3 separate regions of the Homo sapiens genome follow, and regions 1 and 2 are each linked to region 3. Evidence: promoter capture Hi-C in 16 types of primary human blood cells and fetal thymus (Javierre and others, 2016). All regions are on one chromosome and are shown on one strand. Each heading gives the region's core, a stretch centred on a gene start or on the middle of the fragment in contact. The rest is flanking DNA. Distances are from core to core; before and after follow the strand shown.

Region 1 (4,512 bases), core at 129-2,628, 1.5 Mb after region 3:
TACAAGCAAGTGCAGACTGCAAATATTACAATAAATATCTAACTATTCAATGCCCAGACACTCACAAACATCCAAAAGCATCAGGACCATTCAGGAAATCATGACCTCACTAAACAAACTGAAAAAGTCACCACTGATCAATCCAAGAGTGACAGAAAATTCAAAATAGAAATTTTGAGGAAGCTCAATGAAATTTAAGATAACACAGAGAAGGAATTCAGAATCCTATCAGATAAATTTAACGAAGATACTGAAATAATTTTTGAAACATGTAGAAATTCTGAGCTGAAAAATTGAATTGACATACAGAAGAATGCATCAGAGTCTCCCAACAGCAGAACTGATCAAGCAGAAGAAAGAATCAGGCTATTTGAAAATACACAGTCAAAAGAAACAAAAGAATAGAAAAGAATGAAGCTTGCCTATAAGTTCTAGAAAATATCTCAAAAGGGCAAATTAAGATTTACTGGCCTTAAAGAGGAGGTACAGAGATCAAGGTATAAATTTTATTCAAAGAGATAATAACAGATAACTTTTCAAACCTAGAGAAATATATCAAAATTCAAGTATAGATGGGTTGTAGAACATCAAGTAGATTTCATCCAAATAAAACTACCTCAAGACATTTAATAATCAAACTTCCAAAGGTCAAGGATAAAGAAAGGATTCTAAAAGCAGCAAGAGAAAAGACACAAATAACATACCTTACAATCTAGGAGAGAGTGGCATTACATATTTAAAGTGCTGAAGGAAAAAAGACTTTTATCCTAGAAGAGTACACCCAGTGAAAATACCCATTAAACATGAAGAAGAAATAGGCTTTCCCAGACAAACAAAAGCTGAGGGATTTCATCAACACCAGAACTGCCCTACAAGAAATGCTAAAGGGAGCTGTTCAATCTAAAATGAAAGGACACTAATGAGCAATAGGAAGTCATCTGAAGGTACAAAACTCACTGGTAATAGTAAGTACACAAACAAACACACAATATTATAACACTGTAATTGTGGTACGTGAACTATTGATATCTTGAATACGAAGACTAAAAGATAAACCTATCAAAAATAATAACTACAACTTTTAAGACATAGTATAATAAAACGTAGATGGAAGCAACAAAAAGTTAGAAAGCAGGGGGATTAAGTTAAAGTGTAGAGCTTTTATTAGTTTTCTCTTTCGTTGTTGTGAGTTTGGATTGTTTTGTATCCAGTGCTAAGTTGTGATCAGTTTAAAATAATGAGTTCTAAGATGTTATTTCCAAACCTCATGGTCACCTCAAATCATAAAACCTACAACAGATACACAAAAAACTGAAAATCAGTAAATTAAAACAACCCACCAAAAAAAATTAACTTCCCAAAAAGGAATACAGGGAAGAAGGAAGGAAGAAAGAGAAGAGCACACATAAAACACCCAGAAAACAAATAACAAAATGGCAGTAGTAAGTCCTTACTTACTAATAATAACATTGAATGTAAATGGACTAAACTCTCCAATCACAAGACATAGAGAGCCTGAACAATAACAATAATAAAAAAACAAGCTCTAACAATCTGGTAACTATAAGAAACACGCTTCACTTATAAAGACTAACTTAGACTTAAAATATAGGAACTGAAAAATATTGCATGAAAATGGAAACAAAAAAAGCAGAAGTAGCTATATTTACATCAGACAAAATAGATTTCAAAACAAAAACTATAAACAGAGACAAAGAAGGTCATTATATAATGATAAAGAAGTCAACTTAGCAAGAGGGTGTAACACTTGTAAATATATATACATTCAACACTGGAACACTCAAACATATTAAGTAAATATTATTAGAGCTAAAGAGAGAGATAGACCCTAATACAATATTAGCTGGAGACTTCAACACCCCACTTTCAGCATTGGACAGAACCACTACACAGAAAACCACCACCAACAACAACATTGGACTTAATCTACATTATATACCAAATGGACCTAATATATATTTACACAATCTTTCATTTAAGAGCTGCAGAATACACGTTCTTCTCCTCAAGGCATGGCTCATTCTTAAGGATAGATCACATGTTAGAACAAAAAACAAGTCTTAAAAAATTAAAAAATTGAAAAAATATCAAGTGTCTCATCTTTCCAGTTTTATTCTCAATGGAATAAAACTAGAAATAAATAATTAGAAAAATATCAGAAACTATACAAACACATGGAAAATAAACAATATGCTCTAGAGTGACCAGTGGGTCAATGAAGAAATTAAGAATAAAATTTAAAAATTCCTTGAAACAAACAAAAATGGAAACACAATATATCAAAACCTATGGAATGCAGCAAAAGCAATACTAAGAAGAAAGCTTATAGCAATAAGCACTCCACATCAAAAAAGCAGATAATCCTCAAATTAACAACCTAATGATGCATCTTAAAGAACTAGAAAACAAAGAGCAAACCAAAGCCAATATTAGTAGGAGAAAAGAAATAATAAAGATCAAAGCAGAAATAAATGAAATTGAAACAAAACAAACAATACAAAATATCAATTAAACAAAAAGGTGGCTTATTTTAAAAAAATAAAATTGATAAACATTTAGCCAAAGACATAAAGATAGAAGACCCAAATAAATAAAATGAGAGATAAAAAGGAGGTATTACAACTGATACTGCAGTTCAGAGAATCATTAGAGACTACTATGAGCAACTACATGCCAGTAAATTGGAAAACCTAGAAGAAATAGATTGAATCCTAGACACATACAACCTACCAAGACCGAATCATGAAGATTTCCAAAATCTAAATAGACCAATAACAAGTAATGAGTTCAACACCATATTAAAAAGTATCCCAGTAAAGAAAAATCAGAGACCCAAAGCCTTCAACTGCTAAATTTCACCCAAAATTTAAAGAACTAATATTAATCTAATCCTATTCAAACAATTCCAAAAAAATAAAGAAGCAAATACTTCCTTACTCATTCTGTGAGGCCAGTATTACCCTGATACCAAAATCAGACAGAGACATCAAAATAAGAAAACTACAGGCCAATGTTCCACATGAATACTGATGCAAAAATCCTCAACAAAATACTCACAAACCAAATTCAACAACACATTTAAAAGATAATTCATCATGACCAAGAGGGATTTATGCCAGGGATGCAAGAATGATTCAGCAAATGCAAATAAATCAATGTGATATATCATTTCAAAAGAATGAAGGACAAAAACATGCAATCATTTCAACCGAAGGTAAAAAGCATTAGATAAAATTCAACCTCCTTTCATAATAAAAGCCCTAAAAATGTGGTATAGAAGTATATATCTCAACACAATAAAAACCATATATGACAGACACACAGCTAGCATCACACTGAATACAGAAAAACTGAAAACTTTTTCTCTAAGATCTGGAACAAACCGAAACATCCACTTTCACCACTATTATTCAACATAGTACTGGAAGTTCTAGTTAGAGCAATCAGACAAGAAAAAGATATAAAGAACATCCAAATTGAAAAGAAGTAAGTCATCTTTGTTTGCAGATGATATGGTCTTATATCTGAAAAATACCTAAAGACCTTAACAAAAATCTATTAGAACCAATAAACAAATTCAGCAAAGTTGAGGGATACAAAATCAACATATAAAAATCAATAGTATTTACATATTACATCAGTGAACAATCTGAAAAAGAAATCAAGAAAGTAATCCCAGTTACAATAGCTACAAATAAAATAACATACCTAGAAATGAATTTAACTAAAGAATTTAAAGATATCTACAATGCACTCTATAAAACATTGATGCAAGACATTGAGGAGACCAGAAAAAAATGAAAAGATACTCTATGCTCATGGATTGGAAGAATCAATATTGTTAAAATGTCTGCACTATTCAAAGTAATCTACAGATTCAGTGCAATCATTATTAAAATACCAATACAATCTTCACATTAATAGAAAAAAATCATTCCAAAATTCATGTGAAATCACAAAAGACCCAGAATAGCCAAAGTCATTCTGAGCAAAAAGAACAAAATGAGAGGAAGCACATTCTCTGATTTTGAATTATTCTATAGAGCTATAGTAACCAAAACAGCATGGTACTGGCATAAAAACAGACACATAGACCAAAGAAACAGAATAGATAAATCAGAAACAAATCCATACAGCTATGTTGAATTTATTTTTGACAAAGGCGCCAAGAACATACAGTGGAGAAAGACAATCTCTTAAATAAATTGTGCTAGGAAAACTAGACGTCTATAGGCAGAAGAATGAAGCTAGAACCCTATTTTTCATCATCTACAAAAATCAAATCAAAATGTATTAAAGAGCTAAATCTAAGACCTAAGACTATTAAACTATCAAAAGAAAACATTGGGAAAACTCCACAGGACATTGGTCTGGGCAAAGGTTTCTTGAATAACACCTCAAAAACAGAGATAACCATAGCAAAAATGGGCAAATGGGATCACATCAAGTTAAAAAGCGTCTGCACAGAAAAAAAATTTAACAAAGTGAAGA
Region 2 (4,285 bases), core at 1,470-3,969, 1.0 Mb before region 3:
ATGTTGACTTCTAAAGACCAATAGTTCAATTTAATCCTCCATTTATATTGTTTTATAGGAAATATAGAACTGTGAATAGAAAAACTGTAGAGAAACACATAGACAGGTTGAATCTATGGTGCAATTCATCCTGCCAGCTAAATTTAAGCTCTAAGCAGGTTTAGCTTGGAACCTCTGGTGGCTGAGTGGACTGTGGCTGCTACATGTATCTGCAAATAGATGTGGCATTTGTGGGAGTGCCAATAAAAATCTCTTGAACTGCATTAATGGGAACTTCTCTATATAGAATATTCAACAAAAATCGCTGAAAGAAATTGTTCATATGGAACAACCCACCTTGTGAGACTGTAAGAAATGAAAAAATGGAGGCAACAATTAGAAGCAACAATGAGCAGGGAATTCTCCAGTGACCTGCATCTTACTTAAATGGTGAATTGAGGTGGCTGGATGTCTGGCCAAATCTCAGCTTTCTTTGTTTTCTTGGGAAGGGTATTTTGCTCACCATCCTAATCACTTAAAGTCATGCTGTGCTCTCACAGCAAGTCAGTGAAATATGCTTTCTTCTTTAATGGCTAAAACTTGATCCAGGTTTGGCTGGAAAAAAAAAAGAGGCTTGATATGGTCTGGGATCTGGGTTTGCTTCTAAGCTATTTGTATACCTCATCAGTTTCCCATAATTCACTGAGTCAGTCAGTCAAAAAGAATTAATTTAATGCCTACTGTGTGCAGAGAAGAGCATATGGTATACAAAGACACAATTCTGACACTCAAAGCTTTTGAAATCTAGGTAAGGAAGAAAACATACCTATAGAAAGAAATATTAAATAATCAATATTTAAAATAATATGTTATAAATTGAATGCTTGAGTGCAAGAGGGATCTGGGAACTTAGGTGAAGTTATGGGTATGGTACATGTAGTTAAAAAAGAAGATTATCTGAAGGAGATTGGTTGCAAATCAGATTGCAAAGTGTCAGAAAATGAAAAATATTAGAGGTTTAGATATTCATAGGGGGTTCCAATAAATTTTTTCTGATTTATTTTATAATCAACCCACAATTAAAGATCTTGAAAATTTAACCAGAGACACAAGAGATGAAATATACCAAAGCTAGTACTGGTTCACAAGTCATTTCAAAAGAAAAAGTAAAACCACATCAGAAAGTATATGTCCTAACATCTCACAACAAGAAGAACTTTACACAGTGTACTTTCCTTACAATTTCTTGAAGCTTTGCTATTTACAATTTCTAATATAATTAATGGGGTGTTTATTATGCTTAATGCTAAAAATCCTCTGATCTAATTTTGAAAATGAATTATTCCACTTAACAAGGAAAAAAAATCCTTTCGATTTTTACCCAAGTGCTACAGTTCTCCAAGTATTCCATATTTTCAGCTATTATCCCTTTCTTACAAAGAGCCCACTTAATAATGTTCACTCTAACAACCTCATTTATTTTCCAGAAAATTAACTCAGTTTCAACCCTGATTAATGATTTCATCTAAATGAATCAAATTAAAAATTGAAAATTATATTTCAAAAGCCAAAGAAAAAAAAATTGACCATTTCCAGTTAACAAATGATCCTTTCAAATATTAAAAGATGACCATGAAGAGTGCGTGATAGTAATGAAATCTGGCTCGGGCCTGCTGCTTATCTGGAGTTCATGGAGGAGGAGAATTAACAGGAAAAAAAAAAAAAGAAAGAGAAGAAAAAGGTACCCTATGCATTTTTAACACGGAAATCCCTTGGGACACCAAAGTGACTTCCACTTAGGCTTCGCCTATAATCAGTGTACCAAAATAATATGAGCATTTCCCTGTTAATTAAAACTGGGCTGGAGATGCCCCTCAGCAGAAGGGGGATTAAGAAGTCACACACACTAATAGCCCCTGTTAACAAAACCTAAACCGTGCAAGAATGCTTCATGCTATGATGTCTTCTCTAGGAGCCGGAAGCAGTCCATGAGGAAAACAAGCAACTAATTAGGGAGAAACTTCTGGTCTGATACGTTATTTTTCTTTTAAATCCATTTTGGCCGGGGGTTGGGGAAGGGAAGGGTGACTAGGCAGAGCAGAGAGGATTTTTAGGACACTGAAACCATTCTATGTAATACTATAATGGTAGATACGTGTCATTATACATTTGTCAAAACCCACAGAATGTATAACACCAAGAGTGAACCCCCACATAAACTATGGACTTCTTTGGGTAATAATGACGTATCCATGCGGATTCATCGATTGTTAACAAATGTACCAGTCTACTGGGAAATGTTGATAATGAGGGAGGGTATGGATGAAGGGGGGCGGGTCAGGGGATATTAACTCTGTACTTTTTGCTCAATTTTGCTGTCAGCCTAAAAGTGCTGGGTTTTTGTTTTGTTTTGTTTTTTAACTTTTAAGTTCAGGGGTACATGTGCAGCTTGTTCCATGGGTAAAATTGTGTCATGTGGGTTTGCTGTGCAGGTTATTTCATCACCCAGGTATTAAGCCTAGTACCCATTAGTTATTTTAAAAATAAAGTCTTAAAAAAAAATCCCAAATAAATAAATCCACTCTTGAGGTATACAGATGACTGCATTTATCTGAAGTCCTGTGAAAAAACTTTACAATTAGGGACCATGTCGTTTTCACCCAGATTTCCGGATGTAATTCCGTGTTTTGAAATGTACGCACAAGAGTAAACAATGCAGAATGATCAGCCTCACAGCGGGTCACAGGACACAACCGCCGCGCTCTGGTTGGACGCAGGCTGCATCCTGTTTCCCGGACACATTTATTCAGCCCAATCTTTCCTGTCTGAACACAGACTGTTGATGATAAAATAGCATCTCAAATTATGAGGGAGAAAGAGCTGCTTCGGCGTTCCTCCCCGGTTCTCTGCCTGGATTGGGCTCCCGTGGGTTGCTGAGGCCCTCGCGGAGGCCTAGGAAGCCCGGCAGCGCGGGCGGCAGCAGCGGGTTGGGGAGCAAGGCCGGCTTGGAACGCGGGCTCCTGCCCACTGCCACCCGCAGGCTGCCCCGGGCTCCCGGGCGGGCGCTCGGCCAGGGGCTCTGCTCGCTCCATGGACAGCTGGGTGGAAAGGACGCCCCGTGAAGGACACCCGGCCGTCGGACCGCGCCCACCCCTGGGCCTCCCAGGGGCTCCCTCCGCAGACTCCCAGGGACTTCCTGGGAGCCACCGCGGAGGGCGCTGCGCGCGTCCGGAGCCGACGCCGGGCTTCAAACAGAAACCAAAGCCCGCTCCAACGCCGCGAAGGAGGGGGGCTCCAAGCATCCTAGAAAAGAAAGCTGGAGGGAGCGCATCAGAGACACAAGTGCGGATAAGACTTAACACATTTCCTGAAGAGGATTCCTTGTCGCGAGTTGTCTTGGTTATGACAGAGGAAGAAGACTTCAAAGTGAATAAGCAAGGGGGTGCCCTTAATCAGGGCAGAAATGTGGTGGCTTTGGGATTTACCTATTTCGTACAAGTTGCGTTCTTTTCAGTGGCGTATTTCCCAGGTCCCTTGCAAGAGCTGTTGGACCCACTCCCCTCTTGCCCACAAGTTGGAATATTATTTCATTAATCACAACAGGAGGCAGATGTTACTTAAGATTTAGAAAGAGAAATAAAGGCATAGATGAAGGGGCTTGCATCAAGTTCAAAAAAGAGTATTATGTTTATAGCTCCTTAATTATTATTGGTTATCTGCCAGGCTTTCTATAATATACTTTGTAACATTCTGGAATTTTTAAAAAGTACCCTACTTATCTTTAAACACTGAAATCCATTCAAAGCCCTACAACCGATAGGGCCTTTGGGAGCGTTATTAAAATCCTCTTAATTAACAACAACAAAGTGAAGGCTTAAAATGGTTGAATGACTTGCCCAAGATCACACAGCTAGGAAATAAGCATTGGATAAAAATGTATGGAATGTCTGAGTAAATCCTAGCCTTTCTGTGTTCTACTTAAATTCCTCAATTTTAAATATAGTTGTTATATCACACACAGTTAGGGGTATTATCCCCATTAGCAAAGAAAGTGCCGTAGTAAAGGCAGCTTTCAAAATTTTCAGGGATTTTGTAGAATCACTGAGGAGTAACTATGTTGTACATGGTTCCTCTTCCATTACATTTACTAGAAGAGGCTAAAGGGTCACACACCCTCACTTGTCATGAGCCTGAAAGACTTTGTGACTGTTCTAGGTACATACATGTAACAAGCTTTTGATACAAAACATAATGCGAAAAATAAAATGTTGTTTGTGAAGGCAAAGATTCATCAATACCAAGTATA
Region 3 (4,735 bases), core at 2,192-4,691:
GAACTTTCAGGAAGTTTTCTTTCCTCTTTACCATGGTTTGCTCAAAATCAAACCGTGAATGGCTTTAAGAAAAAAAAAGTCTAACCCTAGTTTCCAAATTAGTGATTTAATAAGGCAAGCTCATTTATTATTAAATCTGAAGACCATGCTTCTGATTTTTTTGCTACTTCATTTAATGACTTCATGAGTCATTCAAACTTTTCCTTACATTCTAATTGCTTTCAAAATGTAAACTATTAAAAAGCTGCCTATAGGAAATAAAGTCAGTTTAAAACAAAACAAAAAATTTAGAATCTAATAAGTAATTCATTATAGCTCTTGTCAATATGCATATATTCAAATGCATTAGGCAAACAGTAAGTAGGAAATGAGTCTTATTTAATGTTTATATTAACATACAGTAACTGTTCAATAAAAATTTACTGAACATATAACCTGAATTCCTATAACAGGAATGAGAATGAAGACAACTGAATATTAATTAGAAGCATACTGCTTGACACATAACAGATTTTAAAAAATAATCTGCCAGATGAGCAAACCAATGAATGACTAAATGACTGAACAAAAAACAAAAGAAAAACATAATGACTAAAACTTTTAGACAATCCATATTCCAAATTTTCTGCTACATTAACAAGCCAGACACTCTAGGCTTTTAGCTAAGTAAATGTGAAGTTAAGGAAAAATTATCAAAGACAACGTAAAGGCTTCCAGCTTGACATAAATATGGATGCTAAGAAGCTATAACAAATTTAATGAATTACTTGAACAAAATCATACTGTTTATTGCTTTGATTCTTAATTGTTGAAACAAAAACCTGACTCAAACCTGCCAGTATGCAACTAAGTTCAAGACTAACAAACTCCAAAAAACAAGCAATTCAAAAAAATGCACACCATTTACTATGCAGTTTTCTGGATTTCAATAAAATCAAAATACCTAATAGGAATGAAAATGCAGAAACAAAAGTCCAGAGTCAATATAGTTTATTTTAATGGCTTTTTTTTAAGCAAAGCCACATAATAAAGTTAAAAAAAAAAAAAAAAGAATACCATAGTTGAATACAGAAATTATCCACATTTACCCATTTGGTGCCTAAAAATTGAAACAGCAACGTCCACACTGGAGAAGTTGAAAAAGTCAAGATGGGAGCTAAATAAGTCAGAAAATCCAGACTGGTTAACAAATTTGGGCATCTAACTGCTAGGTTACATATTCCTTGAGATATTATATCTCATTCAGACACATAGGCAACATATAAAAGTGGTTAAGAATTTTGGGGGGGTATACTGGAATCATCCTGCAAATATGATACTTAGGCCAGTTACTTAAACCATCTTTGCTTCTGTGTCACCTTATCTAAAATGCAAAGAATGATACACCTACCTCAAAAGATTTACATGAGATGACACATATTTGTAAAACCTGGCACCTAATTAACTGCTTAGTAGCAGTATTCCCAGTGGGACTGGAATTTATTACTGGGATCAAACATACTTATATAGTAAATATCTGTTCAATTAATGAAGAAGAAAATTCCATTAAGAAATCTGGAATTTTTACATTCCAGATAGTCATACAGATAGTCATACAGATAGACTAGAAAATAAAGATCCAGTTTTCTGGAACATATTCATTCTGACAGAACAGGAATGACTTTAGAATTTCATTCAAAAATACTAAGTGCTACCACTTTGTTATACTCTGGTGCCATAAGAAATGGTGAGTTGTATGACAAGCGAGCCTTTAAAGAGAATTGAAGGAGGTTTCTCTCAGTACCTAACCATGATTTTAAAGGTAAAAGAAGTTGAGAGAATCAATCACATTCTGATGTAGTCACCTACCCTACAAATCAATAGCACCCTAGGAAGAGCAGACCAATCTACATAGGACATTTTGTCTCCCTGACTTAACCAAGATAATGAACAGTGAAACATTAAGACAGGTATCCTTGAGAGGGAACTGTGGGGTGATGGACAAATCCATTATCTTGTTTTGTGTGGTGTTTACATAAGTATATGCAATTGCCAAAACTAATAAAATTAAGCCTGTAAAAATTGTGCATTTCATTCTATGCTAGTTATACCATTAAAAACTGGTTCATTTAAAAAATGCTCCCTACTTTTCTCACTGGAAAATGTAATAATTTACAAATAGTATAATCAAATCTATATTCACTATAAAATTAACTACAGGATGATCAGGTCCAACTAGAAATATTTTGGATAAGGTATTCTTTTAACTTTTCAGTGATAGGTGATGGAAAAGCAATTATCTGAGATCACAGACTACTAGAATTCCTCATGTTCTAATTTTTGCAGAATCTAGGAATGAACACGCACCATTTAGCCACATTTCTTTCACCTGTTGGTCAGAACTTTATGTTTGAGGATTTTCAATGGGAAATTGCTTGTTTGTGTCACTGGTTGTCTTATGTTATGTTTGGAGGAAAAGGGCTTGGGAGAAAAACAGGACAGATAATACAGAGTGTTCAACTAGAAATCCCCAAATCAGGATTCTAGCTCTAGGATTAAAATGTACAGGGCAACTTTGGACACGGTACTTGAATTTTCTGTGCTTGTGATATTCTGCTATCACAAGGCTGTCATAGGATAAAGTGTATTAATTTGTGGAAATACTTTGAAAAGTCAAAGCAATATATTATTCTAACATGATACCATAGACATAGTCAAGCCCCAAACTTAATCCTGACAGTTATAGGTTCTTGGAAAGCCCCCATACATATCTCACTTTAACTTGAATAGAATGTTCAAGAGGGTGGAAACAGGTAGGTTACCCTCTCTCTTTAAAAAAGGGGGTGAGAGGGTGATGTGTTTTCCACGATTGAACTTCCAGAACTCTAGATTTCTGGAATTTATCTTCCAAAAGACTTGGTATAATCTGGTAAATATTGAAAGAGGAGTGGGGAATAAGGCCCGGATTAAGATAAATTCTTCCTGTCCCTAGTGTTGTCAACAATCAATGAGGAGATGAATTGCTCCTGGAGTACAGGAAGCTTGACTTCTAAAATATTGTTAAACAAGCAATCAGAAAACATTTACTGTATTCTTTCACAAATCTTTGGCACACACCCAAGAGCTCCCTCAAACTGCGTGCATCCCAGGAATGAGTGAGAGCAAGGCCTAGATGTCTTCAGATCATCCATCACAGCTCCCTCCCGCCTCCATTCCAGGTCCAGCGGAGCGGCCTCGGGCAATCACACCCTTCCCTGACCTCCCCCTCCCCAGGGCCGCCAGCCTCACCAGCTGTTCCCGGCTGCTGGAGCTCCGATCGGTTGGCGCCCGGCGGCCCCGAACATTAACGACACCCGGGAGCCTGGCCTCGAAGCTCAGGCCCGTGAACAGACTCCAACTACAACAGCACCGGCGACTTCCAAAGAGCAGTTCAGCATTTTGAGATGAGCTTCCGGAAGCCGACAGGCGGCGGAAACCGGATGCCCGGAGCAACCATTAGTTCTCCGCGTTTACTGCTTTCCCCTTCCTATAATCCCCTCTTCCTACTCGCAGTAGAGACAGAGACAAATAAATTAAACTTTTGTGCTACACAGAAATTTCTTAATTCTCTTTTTAGTGCTCTTAAAGTCAAAGCAGCATGAGAGAAAAGAGGAGTGAACAAAAAGTCGAACCCCGGGAGTGAGCTATGGTTTAGCCCAGTTACCATGGAGACCGGTAGTAACACCAGTTGTAAACCCAAGGCCAAGAGACCATGGCCACGTTAGCCCGGCTGCAAGCTAGGTCGTCGACTGTAGGAAATCAGTACTACTTTAGGAACAGGTAAGTCAGGAAGAGAAGGATCGCGTAAAGGGCGGGCGTGACTTTATACCAGTTGTTCCTCAGCGGGAGTTTCCAATTAACGATTTAACGATTACCCTAATTCATTAAGTAGTACCCAATTCTTCCCTTAATGGGCTGCAAACATAATTGGGAGTTTCTGTTACCATACAACGAAATTCTAAATAGAGAGGGGCCGTAGATATTCAGTGTGAGATGATTTAAGGAAACTCCCAGCATAGATAAAATTGTAAAGTGCTTTTTTTCTTCGACATCACCACTCTGCAATTTGATGAAACCTATGTTCAATACCCTGACTGGGGGTCACCCTGACTCACTAGCCCAATGAACTCAGATTGTGTCCCATCTACCTAGGGATTTGAGCCTCCGTTATTTTACAAACATCACTAAACTCAATTGTTCTATGACTCATTCGCCTTTTTAAAATGAACGTATCTGCCGGGTGTGGTGGCTCACGCCTGTAATCCCAGCACTTTGGGAGGCCGAGGGGGGCGAATCACCTGAGGCCAGGAGTTCTAGACCAACCAGGACAACATGGTGAAACCCCGTCTCTATTAAAAATACAAAAACTAGCCGGGCATGGTGGCACATGCCTGTCATCCCAGCTAGTCCGGAGGCTGAGGCAGGAGAATCGCTTGAACCTGGGAGGCAGAGGTTGCAGTGACCCGACATTGTACCACTGCACTCCAGCCTGGGTGACAAATTAAGACCCTGTCTCAATAAATAAATAAATAAATATAAATAAAATAAAATAAAATGAAAGTGTCTAAACCATTCTGACACGGTAACTAGTACCAATATATTAATTAATAGATAACGGGTAAGAAAACCACTAGCAGTCTTCTTCATCTCCCTACAGCCAAACTTCTTGCCCAGGAAGAGTTTCATTTTAAAGAAGCATTGCCCCAGGAGTTTTTGT

Evidence for each region. The method cuts DNA at HindIII sites, captures the fragments that hold promoters and counts their contacts. A CHiCAGO score of 5 or more calls a contact.
Region 1: a fragment that was not itself captured here is called in contact with the fragment with the promoter of GPATCH2 in region 3 in 1 of 17 cell types (monocytes); the score reaches 5.4 in monocytes.
Region 2: a fragment that was not itself captured here is called in contact with the fragment with the promoter of GPATCH2 in region 3 in 1 of 17 cell types (erythroblasts); the score reaches 9.9 in erythroblasts.

What each region holds. Positions count from the first base shown.
Region 1 is chr1:219,089,219-219,093,730 of GRCh38, forward strand. All of the region lies in intron 3 of LYPLAL1-DT (LYPLAL1 divergent transcript), which reads right to left. Among named protein-coding and RNA genes, the nearest start is that of LYPLAL1-DT, 82 kb to the right of the region's middle. RefSeq lists an enhancer at 4-53. The HindIII fragment of the contact is 1,926 bases long and covers 416-2,341 here.
Region 2 is chr1:216,598,133-216,602,417 of GRCh38, forward strand. The region is part of intron 3 of ESRRG (estrogen related receptor gamma); the gene reads right to left. Among named protein-coding and RNA genes, the nearest start is that of ESRRG, 120 kb to the right of the region's middle. RefSeq lists enhancers at 105-832, 2,374-2,942, 2,788-2,887, 3,268-3,367 and a silencer at 2,988-3,167. The HindIII fragment of the contact is 2,981 bases long and covers 1,230-4,210 here.
Region 3 is chr1:217,627,649-217,632,383 of GRCh38, forward strand. GPATCH2 (G-patch domain containing 2) reads right to left here and starts at 3,442. Exons shown (of 10, transcript NM_018040.5): 1 at 3,268-3,442. The coding sequence starts at 3,323. SPATA17 (spermatogenesis associated 17) reads left to right here and starts at 3,696. Exons shown (of 11, transcript NM_138796.4): 1 at 3,696-3,798. The coding sequence starts at 3,731. RefSeq lists enhancers at 3,381-3,450, 3,481-3,720. The HindIII fragment of the contact is 9,292 bases long and covers 3,019-4,735 here.